Linked DNA regions of Homo sapiens: region 1 is linked to region 2. Evidence: promoter capture Hi-C in 16 types of primary human blood cells and fetal thymus (Javierre and others, 2016). All regions are on one chromosome and are shown on one strand. Each heading gives the region's core, a stretch centred on a gene start or on the middle of the fragment in contact. The rest is flanking DNA. Distances are from core to core; before and after follow the strand shown. Region 1 has its middle 59 kb from the start of HS6ST2-AS1. Region 2 holds the start of FRMD7 (FERM domain containing 7).

The links. Contacts are between HindIII fragments. The CHiCAGO score rates a contact against its expected background, and 5 or more counts as called.
Region 1: a contact is called between a fragment that was not itself captured here and the fragment with the promoter of FRMD7 in region 2, in 6 of 17 cell types (non-activated CD4 T cells, naive CD4 T cells, naive B cells and 3 more). The highest score is 7.3, in non-activated CD4 T cells.

What each region holds. Positions count from the first base shown.
Region 1 is chrX:132,607,201-132,610,714 of GRCh38, reverse strand. No RefSeq gene overlaps it. Among named protein-coding and RNA genes, the nearest start is that of HS6ST2-AS1, 59 kb to the left of the region's middle. The HindIII fragment of the contact is 5,115 bases long and covers 1-3,514 here.
Region 2 is chrX:132,126,564-132,129,882 of GRCh38, reverse strand. FRMD7 (FERM domain containing 7) reads left to right here and starts at 1,863. Exons shown (of 12, transcript NM_194277.3): 1 at 1,863-2,095. The coding sequence starts at 2,039. The HindIII fragment of the contact is 2,038 bases long and covers 1,670-3,319 here.

The sequences.
Region 1 (3,514 bases), core at 565-3,064, 480 kb before region 2:
TCCATTTTAGCTGAGTATTTTACCTTTTGCTGAGTTGTTGCCTTAAACATATTCCTAAGGCATATTTGGCAATTTGTGGCCTGGTGTACTTTTTTCCAACAGGCCTATGGATTGCTAGTCACATAACACCGTCAGATCCTGACCTGCAGTTATATTTGTAAGTGACTTTTCAGCTTTCTCCACTGGCTCCCCTTATCTGTACACTTATAAAGAACTCCTTCTCTGAGATCCCCATCATTTACTTACTCTCTCATCTTCACGCTCTTTGACCTCCTTTTTGTCTTATTCTAGAAGGTGCTACGTGTCAAAGATTAGTGTCTTATCTCCCTTCTTCCCTTCATTCCTATATTCTTCCAAATCTGTTTTCGTTTTGCTGTTAGAGGTAGAGGATAAAATAGTTACCATTTATCATGTATTTTCTTATCTCTGGGTTTAAAAATCTTCATTCCTTTATTTTCCTGTAATTAACAGGCATGTTTTCTCTTCCACCCACTGAAGTTTTGATGAAAATATTAAATTGTATCAGACTTAGGTCAGTTCCCTGAGAAACAATATGCACTGTGATTCCCTATCTCTGGTTCTTACTGAGCTATCAAAACCCAGCTGGTCACTATCATCCACTAGTGCCACTTGTATGTGGTGTGAACAATATTTTTCAAGCTAGTTAATGAGTAGGTCACGGCTAGGAGCAGAATCAAAAGCCTTTCCAAGGTTAATACATATTACGTTGTTTGCTGCCCCAAATCCATTAGGCTTGTCATCTGTTACCCAACAAAAATTAGATTGGGTCAGCATGACTATTTTCTTCATAATGTAGTGCTGATTGTTACTCAGTACTCTGTGCTATTCTTATCGTTCTTTTTATTTTCATTGAGGAATTTTAAAAACATATTATCCTGTGAGTAAAATTGGGTTATTCAATCTTTCATCTCTATGTTGACTCTCTATCCTTTCTGAAAAGGTAGATTTTTTTTAGTTGGCTTTTTCTAATCTCCAGGAACTCCGGTTTCCAAGAATTTCCAAAGATGAGACATCTCTGTAATTCTTCAAAGGATCAAGATGCATTCTTTGCACACTTTAGGGTGAAAGTCCTGCAAGACAGTTTGGAATGTTCAGTATCAATTGGCATTGCTCAATATGAATTCTGTGCATATGGAGAGTTAGGCAGCTCATGGCTGCCTGCTGTGATGGCTAGTGTGTGTGTGTGTGTGTGTCTGTGTGTGTGTATGTACATTAAAATTTCCTTTTACTTTAGTGTCATGGTTTGAACTACCTTCCCACACAGTCCAACACAAAGACCCACATTATTTCCCCTTCCTTCCATGCAATAAAGAATACTTTCCCATACATCTGTTCCTAGTAGGAACTTATTCCTTGCTTTGGCTCTCCCCATTTTCTTTTTAAATGTAGCTGTCTCAAATCTATTGTGGGCAAGAGAAAGGTATTAATAAATAAACCCACTTTCTGAATGTTCACCAGGTAGATCTGTCACAATCCACTTATGCCAAGGACTGCAATTGTTTGCTCCTGGAAGTAGTGCTGGGGGAGTAGGCTAATGCCTGAGAGAGCCCCCTTCTAATCCTACAGTGAGGTGTGGCACCCAGAGTTTAAATGAGTAACCTGCAGTTTCATAAACCCCATGCTCTTTCTCTACATAGTGCAATGAGTCTTTTGAAATAAATATATAAAAGAAACCTGTTCTCTGACCTTTGCTGTTTAGATGCCTCCCTTGCCTGTGTCATGACTCTGTGTTAATTAATGTAAGTAAAATGTAAACATTAGAGAAGTCATTTTGTGGATGCAGACCTACCAAACCCATCCTCACATTTTCACATACAAAAGGAAAACTTCTTGCTGGAAATTTTCTCTAATCATTTTTGCTTTCTATCAGAATTAGAGGGAAGACATTGCAATACTATTACAAGCAATAATAACTAACTTTTATTGAGTGCAAGTTTCAGGCTTGGTGCTAAGCTGTTTTGTGGAATTAACTTCTATTTTATACCTGGCATAAATGGAAGTTCAGAGAGTTTAAGTGACTTGCCCATAATCAGATGGATAAAGAGTGGCAGAGTTGGCCACTGTTTTGTAGGGCTAGAGTTGGGCAGTCCTAGGGTCTCACATAAGTTTTTTGGACATTTTATTGTCCATGAAGTCAGAATCCATCTTATAATTCATGGCATTCTAGATACTTTTAAACAGAATTTTAAATAAACTGTTTTCCTTTCCTTTCCTTTCCCTTTCCCTTTCTTTCCTTTCCTTTCCCTTTCTTTCTCTTTTCTTTCTTTCTTTCTTTCTTTCTTTCTTTCTTTCTTTCTTTCTTTCCTTCTTTCTCTTTCTTTCTCTTTCTTTCTTTCTTTCTTCTCTTTCTTTCTTTCTTTCTTTCTTTCCTTCTTTCTTTCTTTTTTTTCTTTTCTTTTCTTTTTCTTTTTTTTTTCGGAGTTTCACTCTTGTTGTCCAGGCTGGAGTACAGTGGTGCCATCTTGGTTCACAGAAACCTCCACCTCCCGGGTTCATGAGATTCTCCTGCCTCAGCCTCCCGAGTAACTGGGATTACAGGCACCCGCCACCATGCCTGGCTAATTTTGTATTTTTAGTAGAGACCGGTTTTCACCATGTTGGTCAGGCTTGTCTTGAACTCCTGACCTCAGGTGATCCACCTGCCTCAGCCTCCCAAAGTGCCAGGATTACAGGTGTGAGCCACTGCACCCAGCCCACAGTATTATTTCTATTATAAAAGAAATATAGATTCGTATTTTAAAAGTTGGTAGAAAATTTATACCAAGTCTCACCATTTTGTTATATTTCCTTCCAGTCTTTCTTTTATGCATAATTTTTCTTATGATTTGTTTGTTTTACATGATCATAAGAATACATGTAACTTTGTGAAGTTTCACAATTTTATCTTTTAAAATTATATCTTAGCATAAACATTTTCCCTGCTATGTAATTTTTTAAAGCCTACATAGTAATCAATTGATCGAGTATATAGTTTAGCCTTTTCCAAGTGATTTAGCATTTAGCCTGTTTTTGTTTTCATTGTTATAAATATCACTGTATTTAAACTTTTTATGCATGAAACTTTGCTGTATTTCGAATGATTTCATGGAAATGAAAGTATTGGATCAAAGAATGTGAACTTCTATAAAGTTCTGGTTAAGCATGGCCAAGATTTCCATAGGTGTCTGAAAGTGTGCCTGAATTTTCACTATTTGATTCATGCAAGAATCTGAGTAATATATCCAGAGCTGAGAGGTGTTCCTTGTACCGTGGTTGAAAAGACCACATGGCTTCATTGGTGTTACTGGCAGAATTACTGCTTGCTTCCACCACTCCTCTATTCTATCCCCACCATCGTTAAACTCAGAATTTTCTTTATTGCCACAGTATTGAGGGAACAGGCTTCCAAAAAGAGTGAGTAATAGCTTTCCACTGTTGCGTGATTTCCCTCCTAGACAGCACCCTGTTTTAGGAGTCTGTAATCATACTGAGGAATAGAAGCAGGGAGGTAGGA
Region 2 (3,319 bases), core at 614-3,113:
TTTGTTTTGGTGTGACGGTCGACCCTCCTAAACACGGGCTTTCCTCAGGCTGGTTCAAGATGGGAAAGGACTTTCTTCTGTTTTCTCCCAAAGTGCAACCACAGTGGAAAGCCCACAGTGGGCTTAGCCTGCCTAAGCCCTTCCATTCCCATTCTATTCTTTGATTGTACTAGGAATTCCAGGAAAAGTGCCTTCCTTCCCTGGTGACCTTTTCCTATTTCTAGCCTCCTCCACGGGTGCTGCTATTTTGAGAGCTCCGGCTCTTGTTTAGCTTTTATTTCAATTCTATCCTCAGTCCAGGTATGTATGTGAGGTTGTTTCCCTCTTCAGCCATGGCTATAATACTGTAAAATGCTAGTTTTTATTTTTTAAGTAGTGCTTCTTAAATGGTTTGCATGAGAGCCACTTGGAGTGCATGTTGAAAATTGATCTATTTGGGGTCCACCCCAAACCTAACAACCCAATTTGGGGATGGGGTTCAGGTATCGGCATTTTTAAAAAGTCAGCCACCCTTCCCAGGTGATTCTGTAAGTTGGTCCCTCAACCGTACTTAGAGAAATAGTGTTTTAAAGCAGTGGTCCACAAAGTATTCTGCTCATGTGACCCCCAAAAGTATTTTGAAAAATCATGTGTCCCCTCACCCATCTAAGTTGACATCTAAAATTTTTCATGGGAAGTTAAATACTTGACAAAGTATGTGTTTGCTGGTGTCATATAAATATTGGTATTTTAAAATAAAAACTGTTACATCACTATTTTAAACATATCCGGTACAATTTAAATATCACAACAATTTGACACCCTTTATTCATTTATAAAAATAAACGAGCTAGTTCTTTAGTAGTTGAACATTTTAAATTGGCTTTTCTTCTTCTATATTTTCATACCACTTTCAGCCAAGAATCCTATCGTAATGTAATCTACTGTGCTTGGCATCTTTTAATCATTCACCCATTATCTTCTTGTCAACAAAAAATACAAATGGAGGTAAGTTTTCTTAGTTCTTGCCTTAAGTGTTATCTCAGTCCAGAATAAATGTCATCGTAATTATTGTTATATAATGAAAATGATATTAATGTAATTCTTTGATGACTGTTTTATTAGAACGTTCTTTATCCTAATTAGTTCATTTATCCAAGAATACATGAATGTTATTTACAGCTGAGATGGGGTTCGACCTTAGTTGTATTCCTTGTTTCATTTCTTTATAGATGTAAGCACATAAATTCTATGGGAATAGAAAGAAAAAAAATTGGTTACCAATAGGGGTGTATTGGGAACACAGAAAAGAGGGAACAGGAGTGGAAGTGAAGTTTTCTATATACCTTTTTATATAGTTTTTATTTCTAAATCATGTGAATTCAGATAATTAAAATTATGCATAATTTTATATTATATATGTTTCTATATAATAGCAATTATATGGATATATTATATCTATATAATTATATATGGATATATTATATCTATATAATTATATATGGATATATTATATCTATATAATTATATATAGATATATATAAGCATAGATAGATAGATAGATAGATAGATAGATAGATAGATAGATAGATAGATGCTTCCTAGCTTGGCCATGAAATTTCTAGTACAATTTGAGATTAACTTGAATCTTTTTACTTTTGAGAATGGCTATTCTCAGTTTATTAAAGCTTGATCTAGGGTTTTCAAATTGTGCCCTTGTGAAATAAAGAAAATCCCCAGGGACCACAAATGCTTGCTTTCTTTATATTTTTCTTTGAAGAAAGGAGCTGAGTTTAAGAAGGCTAGAGGAAGTCCAGTTAGATTTGATATTGACCAAACAGGAGACTGCCCAGATGCTATTGATCCCCTGCACTTGGCAGCACAAATGCCCTTGGGTGTGCATTACTTCAAGCAAACGGAAGTGTGCCCCGCTGACAGTGGGAATGCCTGGCTGGGGGTGGGGGGGCCCGAGTGCACCACATCCAGCTGGGAGTGAAATTCCTGGAGAAAGCACCCACAGCACTCTGAGCCTGCTTGCAGCCCAACGGCCTCGCTGAGAATGCTACATTTAAAAGTGCAGTTTTTGGATGATTCCCAGAAGATTTTTGTGGTTGATGTAAGTGGAAATCACATTGCTATTATTCCTTTATTATTCATTCAATAATTGTCATTTGTGAACAGCCCATTAGAGAGCAATGTTATGTCTTCTTTAGGACTGAATGAAGGAGGACTGTGATTTTTAGCTTTGGAAAAATAATCTGTATTTAACATCACAATGTAGTTCATATTTTTCCATTAACCTTTCTCTTAGAACAAGTTGTCTTTTCTCAAGGGACAACAATAGCAAATTTTAAAGACAGGATAACTATTTGCAAAAAGTAAAGCAGCAATAAACTAGTTCTTTTACCCAATAAGGTATTGTTGTTCATTGAAATTATGTCTGTGGGTCTCACCCCATGAGCATTTGTGGGGAGAAAACTGTTGTTCTGAGGGAAAGGAGTGGGGGAAGCTATCCTCCTTTTCTGAAGAAAACCTATGGGTTATAAGGGGTAGAATTATGTAGTTGTAATGAGAACTTCAGGAAGGAATGACAAGTATGAGAGAGAAAAATAGGATAAGAGACTATTTAGTTTGATTTAGTACTTATAGTTCAGAGTTCTTAATAAATTCCTAGCTACAAGATGATTGCATACAATTATACCTCATCTCTTCAAGAAAGAACAAATGTATTAAGCACATCATTTGGTGCTCATGTTCCAACATCTTAAGATATGTACATTTTGATGTCAGGATTTATGTATGAGCATTTTGAAAAGTTCTACATTTTTATTGGAACCAAAAATGCTATTTGCTCTGATATTTACATTAGCCACTAACAAGAGACAAATAGTTTATTTTCTCTGAAATTCATACAAAATGTTGGTTTTTTTCTTTTATACATAAACTGACAACTGCTGTGGCTCAGCCATGATGTTGTGTGTGTGGGTAGCCCATTTTTCCAATGAGTATTTTATTTTTATTTGAATCATGTGCTTTGTGAGTGATGACTTCATGTCTTCATCTGCTGTTTTGCTGTCTCTTCCTTTCAGTTTTATGCGCAAAAGGCATTTCTAGTTCCACGGACCTGAATGATTTGTTTTTGTAGCAAATAGCTTCCATTAGAGGTATGAGGCATTTCCTATTCTTTCTTGGAACTATATTTAAGGGGTGGAAAATATCTTTTGAGTAGTTTATCCATTTGCAGACTGGTGGTGTATGCTCACAGTGCTGCAGTACCTGAATTAGTGAGCTGGGTATTCAAAAGATATTGCTTTAGGCTAAGTTTTTAATAGATATTTCA